Regions from separate parts of the Homo sapiens genome. Here all the other regions are linked to region 1. Evidence: promoter capture Hi-C in human tissues and cell types (Jung and others, 2019). All regions are on one chromosome and are shown on one strand. Each heading gives the region's core, a stretch centred on a gene start or on the middle of the fragment in contact. The rest is flanking DNA. Distances are from core to core; before and after follow the strand shown.

The links. The method cuts DNA at HindIII sites, captures the fragments that hold promoters and counts their contacts. A contact is called where the count stands out against the background at its distance.
Region 2: a contact is called between the fragment with the promoter of AKT1 here and the fragment with the promoter of CDCA4 in region 1, in 1 of the 25 tissues and cell types used here (liver).
Region 3: a contact is called between a fragment that was not itself captured here and the fragment with the promoter of CDCA4 in region 1, in 1 of the 25 tissues and cell types used here (dorsolateral prefrontal cortex).

The regions. Positions count from the first base shown.
Region 1 is chr14:105,019,103-105,023,251 of GRCh38, forward strand. CDCA4 (cell division cycle associated 4) reads right to left here and starts at 1,981. Exons shown (of 2, transcript NM_017955.4): 1 at 1,897-1,981. RefSeq lists enhancers at 46-706, 1,158-1,673, 2,188-2,701, 2,717-2,776 and silencers at 1,327-1,416, 1,427-2,316, 2,347-2,416. The HindIII fragment of the contact is 13,458 bases long and covers 1-4,149 here.
Region 2 is chr14:104,793,845-104,797,993 of GRCh38, forward strand. AKT1 (AKT serine/threonine kinase 1) reads right to left here and starts at 1,904. Exons shown (of 15, transcript NM_001382430.1): 1 at 1,640-1,904. RefSeq lists enhancers at 1-369, 370-1,011, 3,053-3,825, 3,826-4,149 and silencers at 1,276-1,595, 1,626-1,675, 1,856-2,215. The HindIII fragment of the contact is 31,557 bases long and covers 1-4,149 here.
Region 3 is chr14:104,849,569-104,853,717 of GRCh38, forward strand. No RefSeq gene overlaps it. Among named protein-coding and RNA genes, the nearest start is that of CEP170B, 14 kb to the right of the region's middle. The HindIII fragment of the contact is 3,543 bases long and covers 280-3,822 here.

The DNA.
Region 1 (4,149 bases), core at 731-3,230:
GTTGTTACCGGGACAGCCAAGCCCTCAGTCAACTCCCAGCACTGCCCTCAGGCTTCTAAACCAAGCACCGACCAGACAGAGAAAAACGAAGAGGGCCAGACGGACTGAGGACATGTCCGACATGGCAGGTGGAACAGCCAACAGGCCACTAGGGACAGAGCAACCTAGGCCCACCGAGGCAGAGGCCAGCAGGGAGCAGCCCCGCAGTGCTGCTCAGGCAAGCAGAGTACAGCTCGGGGACTGGTCCTTCACTACAGCAGCAGTGGCCACACCTTCGTGGCTGAGCAATACCACGAGGCTGGCTGAAAACGCAGATTCCCAGATTCTGATCAGTAGGGCTGGGACGGTTGGGGACAGACTCAACTCTGACCTAACCTGTCACCTTCACAGCTGGACTTGCAGCCACTTCAAAGTTTCGGGTTTTTAAGCAAATCATCAACAATTTCCATTCCTCACACATCAGATAAGCTTTGAAATACTTTATCGGAAAAACAGGGAGAAGAGGAGCAAGGTCTGCAGTCTTGAGTACTGAGTGGGAGCTCCACCTTCCACTACAAGTCTCCTGGAGGCTGTTCATGAACAATTACTGTTATGTTAATTTCAGGTATTTGGTTTTTTTTGTTTTTTGAGACGGAGTCTCGCTCTGTCGCCCAGGCTGGAGTGCAATGGCACGATCTCGGCTGAGACCTCTGCCTTTCTGGTTCAAGCGATTCTCCTGCCTCAGCCTCCCACATAGCTAGGATTATGATTACAGGCATGCGCCATCACGCCCAGCTAATTTTTGTATTTTTAGTACAGACGGGGTTTCACCACGTTGGCCAGCTAGTCTCGAACTCGGGACCTCAGGAGATCCACCCGCCTAGGCCTCCTCTCAAAGTGCTGGGAGGTGTGAGCTACCGCGCCCAGCCAATTGCAGGTACTTTTGTTACTTGGAACGAAACACACTCCTTCTTTTCCCTGAAAACATGTTCCAGTGGCAAGTTGAGGGAAACTTCCTAGCCCCTTTTCCAAGATACAGCCTACTACTCTTCCTAGAAAAGGGGTGTAACTCACTTTGTATTCTGGATTTCCACCCTAATTATAAAACACGGTGACACTTGAAAATAGAGTGGTTGTACGTAGAAAGTTGATAAAACGTAAGTTTTGTGAACAGGCAATGTTTTTCTGTGGCTCGCTTTGAGAGAACGGTTATCTGGGTCCCGCCGTCCCGTGCGTCCCACACGAAGGCCACAGGAGAAGCGAGGCAGCGGAGACCCTCTATTCCAGCAAGCTGTCGGAGCCTTTGCCACGACGATCCTGTTTGCGGGGCGAGAAGCGTCTGAAGACGCGGAGGGAGGCTTGCGTCTGACTTCTGCAAGTGTCTCGGGGACTTTCCCTAGTCCCACCTCGCACCGCCGGAGGAGCCCAGGGAAGACGGCGCTGGCCGACCCGCCCGGGGTCTGGGCCTCCTCCCACATCCGCGGCCCTCTCCGCGGCCGGGCTCCGACAGAGGGGGCTGCGGCGCGCCTGGCGTTCCCTCCGCTGCAACTAGAGCCGAGGTACGGGAAACGCCGCTGCGTACCCCAGCCGGGCCCTCGTGAAGCGGCTCCCGCGTGGGGCCGCCCGCAGGCCTCGGCAAAGCCCCAGCTCCGCGCTCCGCAAGGAACGCAGACGGCGGCCCGGGCCCCTCTGTTCCCCGGGCCCCCTCAGCAGCGGCCACCCCGCGGGGGAACCAGCGCCCAGGAGGGCGGCGAGGGCGCCGCGGCAGCCCCAGCGGTGGTCCCGGGCGCCGCCTCCGCCCCGGACCCAGCGCCAGGAGCCACAGACTCCGCGCACCGCCCCCAGGCTCCTCCGCGCCCTGCAGCACAAAAGTGCACGCCGCCGTAGACGCCCTAGCGGTCCGCCGGGCCCGCTCACCTGACCCGCGAGGCCGCCCGCCGGGTCCTCTGCTCAGCCACCGCCACCGCCGCTGCCGCCAGCTTCCCGCCGCTGAGGAAGGAGCGCCCGACGGCGCGGGGCGGGGCGAGCGACCGCCACTCGGCGTCCACAAAGGGTCGACGCTGCGCTCTCCGCGCGCTACGCCCGCTGATTGGCCACTCGCGGGCCGGGGGCGGGGCCTCTTGTTCAAACCCACGCGGGCGGGGCATCTGTGGCGCGTCTTCCCGCGCTGCGGCGACGGCCGTTGGGGCTCGCGCGCGCCCTCGGTTGCCCCGCCCCCGCCCCTGCGCCCGGCCCCGCCACGCCCACGCCCCGCCGGCTCCCAGGTCTCCCCGCGCCCAGTCCGGCCCCGCCCCGCCAGCTCCCAGGTCTCCGCGCGTCTGGCCCTGAACTGAACGCGCCTGCGCCTGGGGCCCACGTGGGGCCCTCGGGCGGGCGTGGCGGGGCAAACAGAGGTTTGGACTCTCTCGCTTCTGCCTGGCTCAACTTCTCCGCCGAGGCATCCGTGCCGGGGTCGGGAGGAGCCGGGCACGGCAATTCCCGGGCGGTCTGGGCTCCGAGGTCTATCCAAGCCTCTCCAGAGACCGGGGTTATCTCCAAAGGCTTCCTAGGTTTACACGTAAGAAATGTAACGTGAAAGTTCAAAGCAGGGGACACGTGTTTTAAATCTCTTAGTGGAAAAGGTTTTAAATAGGATGCGAGAACCTGCAATCATTGACTTAAGTAATACCCTGAGCGCCTGCAGCAGGCCCGGCAGGCGTGGCTGCAGCTGAGAGCCAAGTGCTGGAAGTTGGGGGGGAATCCTCAGATCAATCCGCAGGTGCGGATGCGCCAAGGTCGGTGGTAAATGCTGAAATGCTGTCGGGAAACCTGGGAGTGACGTGGGGGCGCTGCTCACATAGGTCTCTAGGATAAGGAGCGTCTTAAAGCACCAAAAGGAAGAGTGGACGAGAATTCAGGAGAGGAATGGCTGGGGCAAAGCCCGAGGCAGGGGCAGGAGGCAGGAGCACGTCTCAGTGCAGTGAGAAAGAACCCTGTGATCTCGTGGGAAAGTTTTAAGTGTGAGGGGTGGAGGGACTTTTGGGCTATTCTGGGAGTGGGATGGAGACTACTGGCATGGTCAGCAGAGAAGGAACTGGAATCTGAATTGTGCTTGAAAAGAATCACTGTTCTTATTTAAAAAAAAAAAAAAGGGGGTCTCTTTCGCCCAGGCTGGACAACAGTGGCGTGATTATGGCTCACTGTATCCTCGAACTCTTGTGCTCGAGTGATTCTCACGCCTCAGCCTCCCAAGTAGCTGGGACTACAGAAGTGTGCCACTACACCAAGCTAACTTTTTTTTTTTTTTTGGTAATTTTGTAGAGACAGGGTATTGTCTTGTTACACAGGCTGGTCTCCAACTCCTGGCCTTAAGTGATCCTCCTACCTTGGCCTCCCAAAGTTCTGGGATTACAGGCATGAGGCACCACAACCACCAAGAATCACTGTTGGTAATAGATTTGGAGGAGGTGGCAGGAAGGCTGGAAGTAGAAAATCCCATTAGGTTACTGCCCAGGTAAAAGAAAATGGGACTTGATAAAGGTGACTACCTGAGAATTTAAAGTTTATGCATGTCAAAGTGAAAAGACAAATGGGGAAAAAAGTTTTTCCTGGCTGTATCCCACATAAAGGTTAAATTCCTTAATATACAGATATTCTGCAAATGCAAATGAAATCTAGATCACCAAAGAAAAGTGGTTTGGAAATAGTGGCACCCACCTGTAATCCCAGCTACTCAGGAGGCTGGGGTGAGAGAATCCCTTGAGCCCAGGAGTTGGAGGCTGCAGTGAACTATGATTGCACCACTGCACTCCAGCCTGGGCAGCAGAGTGAGACCCCATCTCTTAAAAAAAGAAAAGAAAAGTGGGCGTAGAATATAAACACAGTTCAGAGCAAAGAAAATACAAATGCTCCTATACAGGCGAATAGATGCTCAGCCCCAATCAGAACAAGAGCAGTGGAAATTAAAGCTATGCTGGAGTGCTGTTTGCCACGGGTCAAATTGGCAAAGATCTAAAATAATGTCTGGAGTAAGATAATATCTTCCAGAGCATATTAGTCTATTCTCATGCTGCTAATAAAGACATACCCGAGACTGGGTAATTTATAAAGAAAAAGAGGTTTAATGGACTCGCAATCATGGCAGGAGACAAAGGAAAAGCGAAGGGACGTCTTACACGGCGGCAGGCAAGA
Region 2 (4,149 bases), core at 654-3,153, 230 kb before region 1:
TCCAGATGGGCCTTCCTGAGGGGAGGAGGGTCCTCTCTGGGACCTCCAGGCCAGGCAGAGACCCCTGACGACCTCTGTGGAATGGATCCCAACATGGGTCTTTCCACAGCCAGCTTAGACGCTCTCCCCCCAGGCCACCTTTCTGGCCTCCCGAGGCAAGGGCTGGACACCCACAAAGGGTTGCTTTGCACTGATTGTCTTAAGCTACACTTAGAATGGCAGGAAGGCCCACTGCCTTGTGTCTAATGCCAGGACAGGGAAGACCACACCTTACCCAAAGAGGGAAATGCCCCAAGTACTTAGCAGGATGGAAAGCAGGCCAGACTCGAGGAAGGCACCGCAGGACTCCGAGGGCAGGGCTCCGAGCCGCGCACGCCTCAGGCACAGGGGGCTCTGACGACACTGAGTGGGCGTGGCCTGGAGGCAGAGGGCTGGACTCAAAGACCTCTGGATGTCCCCCCACCCCCACACGGGCCTGAGCCCCTCCAAGGCCTGCTGCTGACAGAGTCAGACAGCTGTCCAGAGCCATGTGTAAAAATACATCTGTGCTCACACAGGGTGGTGTACGTCTGCACAGAAACGTATACACCAGGCCAGCACAGGGCTGCCTGTGGGGGCGGAGGGACCCCGACTTCCCACAGCCTCCGTACCTGCCGCCTGCCTTTACCATAAGCACATATTCTTGCTACTATTATTAAGTCACAACTTAAAAAAAAATACTCTGTTTTCGAAAGGGCTCCTCCATCTGCCTCCAGAACCCTGGTGTATGAGAAGTCTACACAGCTCCCGGGAGAGGCAACCGGACCCCCACCAACGGACTCCGTCCGCCCTTCGCTCGGATGAGGGACTCAAAGCAGTCAAGAAGTGGCCACCTGGAGCAAGGCCGAGAGACCCAGGAGTGAATGTGGGGCGGCCTCTGGCTGCAGAGCAGGGGCCCAAGCTCACCCGCTGACCAAGGCAGCACTCAGAGGCCGTCCCGACAGGACCAAGCTCGCTAGCGCCCCAGGATACTCAATCTAAGGGGCAAGCCCCAGCTGCCCTCCAAGCCTTGGCCTCTGGGATGGGCGGGCAGGACCTCCAGGGCCCACCCAAGACAGGAAGCAGTTCCGGGGCCCAGGAGGGTCACAGTCCTTTGTGGCTAGCCTGGGTACCCCGCCACCACGTACAACTTTTCGTCCGTGGGAAACGAAGTCTCCTTCCGGGGCCCTCCCACAAACTTGAAGGCCGGCCGCGGCGAGTCTTTCTCCAACCCCGGGGCACCTCCGCCGGCTGCCTCGCTGGCCCAGCGCCCGGGGAGCCCCACGGCCCGCAGGGGCACCCCGAGCCCCAGCTCCAGGCCCGGCGGCGTCCCTTCTCTCGGGTCCCGGCCTCGCCCGGCGGAGCGGCCTCCCCAAGGTCATGAGGGAGGCTGGGGCCGGCAGCCTGCACCCCCGGCGCCCGGCGTGGGGCCGCCCTCCCTTGGCCGGGCCCGCGCGCCCCGCGCCCTCCCCGCCCAGGCCCGCTCGGCCACTTCCTGCTCCCGCTCCTCCATTCTGGCGGCGCCGCGGCTCGCGCCCCGGCCCGACCGGCCGCGAACAAAGCGGCCCGGCCCGCGGGGAGGAAATCCAGGCCCGGGCGGCCACGGCGGGCGGGGACTCACCGGGCCGCCGCGTCCGGGCGCGAGCGCGGGCCTAGCCGGGCCGCGGCCTCCGGCGCCCGCCGCTCCGCATCCCCGCGGGCCGGCGCTGGGCGGGGCCGGGCTGGAGGCCGCGGCGGGCGGGGGCGCTGCTCGGGGCCGGGCCTCGCGTGCCGCCGCCGCTCGGTGCCCGGTGCCCAGCGCTCGGTGCTCGGCCGCCTGCTCCCGTCTTCGGGCCGCGCTGCGTGCGCTGGGCCAGCCGCCTGCCGCGCTCGGTCCTGCCGCCGCCGCCGGCCCGCCCTCTCCCCGCCCCGCGCCCGCCCCGCGCCCGGAGCCGCCCGCCCACATCCGCCTCCGCCGCCCGGGGCGTCCCCACCGCGCGGCCGGCGGCGAGGGCGGAGCGCGCTCGGGGAGCGCGCGGCCGGGCTGAGGGGCAGCTCCCGACGACCTGGGGCCTGGGCTGGGCCGCTAACGGAGCCCGGCCACCAGCCAGCCCGTCCCGGGGCCACGCCCTCTCTGGCCTCAGTTTCCCCGTCTGTAAAGTGACCCGGCGCTTCTGGGCTCGCTCTGCCGTGACCCTAGCAGAAGGGGCCCGAGACAGGTCAGGGACGAATCCCGGACTTCTGCCTCCGCGCGCGGGGCGGGGGTGGCTTAGGTTGACTTTCAGGCTGCCCCACTCTGGGGGGCGTGGAGGGGGCGGCCAAGAGTGACCTAAAAGGCCCAATCCCAAGACCTTGTGCCTCTGGGGGAAGTGCGGGAGGATGCCAGGACAGGAGGTCAGTTGGAGGTGGGCCTCCAAGGAGCAGGAAGGCTCCGAGGGGAGTCAACCATTCACCTAGGTACTGGCAGCTACACTCACAAAAGGGGGACTTTGCTGGGGAGTGGGAGAAGAGGGGCACACCTTGCCTGGCTCCCACCTTGAGCTGGGAGCAGACACCAGACAGAGGAGGAGCGGTGTCTAGGGTGGGCTGTGACAGCTGACAGCCCAGAGCCCTCCCTGCTGGGTGGACTTGGTCAGCCCGGACACCCAGTCCGAAGTCCACTGGGAGGCAGATGGCCCGGGTATGGAATGAGTAAGTGGGACACAGACCCCTTTCTCCTGGACACTCACAGGAGAGTGCAGGTGACTGCCACCCCGACCCCTTCCTAGCCAGAAGTTCCTCCGACAACTGCCCCTCCCCCATTCCAGAGGCCCACAGTTGATAATAACCCTTTTGTGAAAGACAGACTCTTGTGAGTTACCTTCCTGAGGCTGCTAAGTATTGGGGTTGGGGGAGCATTTTTATTTTCAGCCAGAGTGAGTTCAGCTGGCAGCAGGGGAGGGGGTGGGAGGAGATGCAGACAGAGGCAGCAGGTTCGGCCCAGTGCTCAGGACAGAGTCTGCAGCCAAAACTCGGGCTTCATCCCTGCCTCTTGGGGCTGACCAAGAGAAGGACTCTCTCCCCCTGCATGAGGGCACTCGCTCCTCAGACAGGGGACTCCCCATTCCTGCCTCTCGCCTGAGCACCTCTGCTCCCTCCCAGCTCAGACTTTGTAACCCCAGGAAGGGCCCACCTCCAGGGGGCCAAGTCAGAGGCCCAGTGGTCTGCGCCGCTTGGGTGGGATACCTGACACAAGGGTTGCCCCCAGAGCCTGGGCGTCTGGTGTCTGTCTCTCACCCAGCAAACCTGCACCATGAGCCACCTGGGGCTCCCTCTGGGACTGTCCCACCTGCCCACTGCTCCCCGAGGAAGAGTTCCTGGTATCTGTCCACCATCCTGGGCTCTGCCATGCAAGGATGGAGGAAGGAATTCAGGGAGGAAGCAGAGGGTAAGAGGGCCATGAGACAAGGCCAGCAAGTGGCCGAGGCTTGGGGATGTGGGAGGGAGCAGGGCACCCTCTCATGGAAGAGGCAGTGACATTGCGGGCTGTTCTTGAAGTGGTTGGACCTCTTGCTTATTTTGCACTGGCTGTCTCCAAGGAGGCCTCCCAGTCTTCCCAGCCTGGTGCCCTGGCATCTGCTGGTGCCTGCAACCCACTGTGGGCCCCACACTCCAGTCCTGTCTTCACCTTGGCATGAACTGCCCTCCCCCAAGACGGGGATCTCCCAGTGGGCAGGGCCATCTCCCTCTCCTCCAGCGTCCCAGAGGGAAAGCAGAGTCCTCTCTTCAAGAACACCCCCTCCCACCCCAGACAGAATGGTCAGGAGAGAACCCAGCCCCACGGCTGCTGCTGGGACTGCTGAGGTGCTCTGTGGCCAGATGTTTCCGACAAAAACTGCTGCACCAGGGAAGGGCCCGACGGCTGCCTCCTCCCAGAGCTCAGGGGCCTCCTGCCCTGTCACCTTCTGCAGCTGCTGGCCGGGGGCAGGACTCGAGGGCCCTGGGCTGTGTAGGTCCCAGCAGCAGCTGCAGGGCGGGGCCTCAGGGCAGCTCCCAGGCCAGATGGCCGCCTGAGTCTGCAGAGGTTCTGCCTGAACCACCACCGCCGCGACAGTGGCTGTGTGACGGTGTCCTGTCATTCCTGCACTTGAGACCCAGCCAGTCACAGGGGCT
Region 3 (4,149 bases), core at 801-3,300, 170 kb before region 1:
AGATTGGCAAATATCTTAATGGGAAAAGAGGCACAGAAGATTGAATGGTAGCTTCCAATGCCAATATTTGCCTCCCCAGGCCTGTGAGAATCCCAGAAGCTCTGAGCTGCCACTTTCTGCTTGGTCTCTAAGTACCTGCCAGGCTCATCTCAATGTGATTCCCTTTTCTCAGGTTCTCAGTCCCTCAAGTCCTGGCTGCCTTGGTTGCTCTCCAATGCCTTCAAACAGCTGTTATGTTGTTGCTGTTGTTTTGAGACAGAGTCTTGCTCTGTCGCCCAGGCTGGAATGCAATGGCTCGATCTCGGCTCAATGCAAGCTCCACCTCCTGGGTTCACACCGTTTTCCCGCCTCAGCCTCCCAAGTACCTGGGAGTACAGGCACCTGCCACCACGCCTGGCTAATTTTTTGTATTTTTAGTAGAGACGGGGTTCCACCATGTTGGTCATGCTGGTCTTGAACTCCTGACCTCGTGATCCACCCGCCTCAGCCTCCCAAAGTGCTGGGATTACAGGCGTGAGCCACCGTGCCCGGCCTGTTGTTGTTTTTAAACTAGTTTTTAGAGTTGCTTTTGGTGTCTGATACTTGTTATTTACCACAGCCACAAGTAGGTGTTTTTGCTTTGTGGGAAGCTTTATTTTTGAGAGCATAGAGGTTCCTGATTACTATAAAGAATTAAATGGGGCCGGGCGCGGTGGCTCACGCCTGTGCTCCGAGCACTTTGGGAGGCCGAGGCAGGCAGATCACCTGAGGTCAGGAGTTCGAGACCAGCCTGACCAACACGGAGAAACCCCGTCTCTACTAAAAATACAAAATTAGCCAGGTGTTGTGGTGCATGCCCGTAATCCCAGCTACTTGGGAAGCTGAGGCAGGAGAATCGCTTGGACCTGGGAGGTGGAGGTTACAGTGAGCCAAGATCACGCCATTGTACTCCAGCCTAGGCAACAAGAAAGAAACTCCGTTTCAAAAAAAAAAAAAAAAGAATTAAATGGCCTAATAAATGATAATGAGTACTTATAGATTTGCCTGGTAGACAGGAAGAATGATCTACTGGATGATTTGATTGATATAAGAAATTATTAAAATTAGGGCCAGGCATGGTGGCTCACACCTGTAATTTCAGCACTTTGTGGGCTAAGGCAGGAGGATCTATTGAGGTCAGGAGTTCAAGACCAGCCTGGGTAACATAGCAAGACCTCATCTCTACAAAAAAACTTTAAAATTAGCCAGGCACAGGCCAGGTGTGGTGGCTCACACCTGTAATCCCAGCACTTTGGGAGGCAGAGGCAGGTGGATCACCTGAGGTCAGGAGTTGGAGACCAGCCTGGCCAACTTGAAAACCCCATCTCTACTAAATATACAAAATTAGCCGGGCGTGGTGGTGCACGCCTGTAATCTCAGCTACTCGGGAGGCTGAGGCAGGAGAATCACTTGAACCTGGGAGGCGGAAGTTGCAGTGAACCAAGATCATGCCATTGCACTCCTGCCTGGACAACAAGAATGAAACTCCATCTCAAAAAAAAAAAAAAAAAAGTACAAAGACTGCATGTGCATGAGTGAAAAAACACAAGGGGAAATGTAGTGATATGAAAGGAATATAAAATCTGACACATGAAACAAATAGTTCTATCTGTGTTGTTTTGGATAAAATGAAAAGGCATTTCGCTTACTAAAAAGGTGATATTTCAATATTCTAAGAAGACTTTGATTAGGAATATAGCAGAAGACTTTTCTGCAACTATCCATCAAAAGATCAGATTCTGGCCAGGCGCGGTGGCTGGCACCTGTAATCCTAGCACTTTGGGAGGCTGAGGCGGGTGGATTGCCTGAGCTCAGGAGTTTGAGACCAGTCTGGGCAACACAGTGAAACCTTGTTTCTACTAAAGATGCAAAAAATTAGCCAGGCGTGGTGGTGGGCACCTGTAGTCCCAGGTACTCAGGAGGCTGAGGCAGGAGAATCGCTTGAACCTGGGAGGCGAAGGTTGCAGTGAGCCAAGATCACGCCACTGCACTCCAGCCTGGGTGACAGAGCAAGACTCTGTCTCAAAAAAAAAAAAAAAAAAAAAAAGATCAGATTTCATCTCCCTGAATATAGAAGGGATGTTATCTTACCAGCCCTGGCAGGCCACTACGCATATGTGCATACGTTACCATGTCTGTGAGGCATTGCAAGGAATACATTTTTTTAGCCACTCAACACCTGTAGATGTCACCGTCTCGGCAGCCAACAGGAAGACCCCATCTCCAGCCGCTGTTTTCCACTATGACCCTCAGCGAGTGTTTTCCACATTTAACCACGTGGGACCCACGGCTCTGGGGATGGCTTTGTGCCATCTTGTGTTTCTTCAGACCCTGCCTGAGTTTCAGGAGAATTTGCGTGACCATGGGAAAGGCTACTGGGCTGTCCAAATGCTACCGTCTCTCAGGCACCTGACCTCGGGCATCTGCTCCCTTCTGCCGCTTCCTGAGGGAACTCTCGGAAACCCCGCAGCAGGCCTCACTCAGGAGAGGCTGAGGGAAGAGATGGGCAGTGCCACCAGAGGCCCCTCTGAGAGGCGTTTCAACAGCTTCACCTGTGCTGACAAAGCAGCCGTGGTCAGCACCGCCGTTAAGGCGGCCATCAGTGGCGGCTGGCATGCAGCGTGTACACGAATTAACACATCAAACAGAAAAACTGCCAAAAGCAGTAAAGCGAATAAGGATGGCTGGGTGCTCCTCACTCCTCCAATGCCAGTGCCCCATCCCCTCTCAGTGCCTTCGTTCACCTCTGACTCCTGTGTCCACAGTGACGTTCCAAAGAAGAGCCCCACAGAGTGGACACACAGAAAGTCCTACTCACGTCGAATGTGTCATCCTCTGCCCTTCCTTCCTAGGCTCACCCTGGCCATGAGATGTGCATGGCTGCTGGAATGGGCATTGCACAACGATTCTCGAGAGCTCAGGGCCGCCGTGAGTGTTCTCTGGGTTTCTGGCACATGGTGGAGGAGGTTTAAAGGAGCCTTCTCTAACTTCACCATCCTTAGAGAAAAGACACCTCATTGGGTGGCTCCTGGCTCCATGGTCAGTGGCTTTGACTGCAGGGGTGGAGGTGTGGGGGGGGTGGACCAACACATTTTTATTTAAAAAAAAATATATGTATATCTCACAAAATAGACTTTTTTCCATAGAAAAAAAAATTTTTTTTTTGAGATGGAGTTTCACTCTTGTTGTCCAGGCTGGAGTGCAGTGGTGCGATCTCAGCTCACCGCAACCTCTGCCTCCCGGGTTCAAGCAATTCTCCTGCCTCAGCCTCCCGAGTAGCTGGGACTACAGGCATGCGCCACCACGCGCAGCTAATTTTGTATCTTTAGTAGAGATGGGGTTTATCCATGTTGGTCAGGCTGGTCTTGCACTCCTGACCTTAGATGATCCGCCCGCCTCAGCCTCCCAAAATGCTGGGATTACAGGAGTGAGCCACCGTGCCCAGCTCATAGAAATATTTATTACCAGTATTCCAAAGAACAGTACTTGGAGAAAGCATATCTAAGCACGTGTGCAGGGCGAGGTACAGTGGTTCACACCTGTAATCCCAGCACTTTGGGAGACTGAAGCAGGAGGATCGTTTGAGGCCGGGAATTCAATAACAGCCTGGGCAACATACTGAGGCCCCATATTTACAAAAATTTAAAAAATTAGCTGGCGTGGCAGAGTGCACCTGTAGTCCCAGGTACTTGGGAGGGTGAGGTGGGAGGATCACTTGCAGCCAGGATTTTGAGGCTGCAGTGAGCTATGATTGCACCTGCACTTCAGCCGGGGTGACAGAGCAACAGCTTGTCTCTAAAATAAATAAAAACATCCTCTGCTACATGGGTGATTCAGCTGTAACTAACAGAACATCCAACCCAAAGTAGCTTAAACAACATCGTTTAAGTTTGTTAGCTTGATCCACTTCGTAAGATTAAGAAGTCTATGGCTCTGGGTCCAGTTCAGCTGTGGCAGGGATCTTGGTCAGCTTGTCTGCTCTGCTCCTGGTCTTCTCTTAGTCTCAAGATGGCTCTGCAGTCCCAAGAATCATGTCCTCACCCAGCAGAGGCGGTGAGTAGAGACAGAGAATGTCTTACCTCACATCAACTCTTTAACAGGAGGACGGCATTCCTAGAAGCGCCCTTCCCC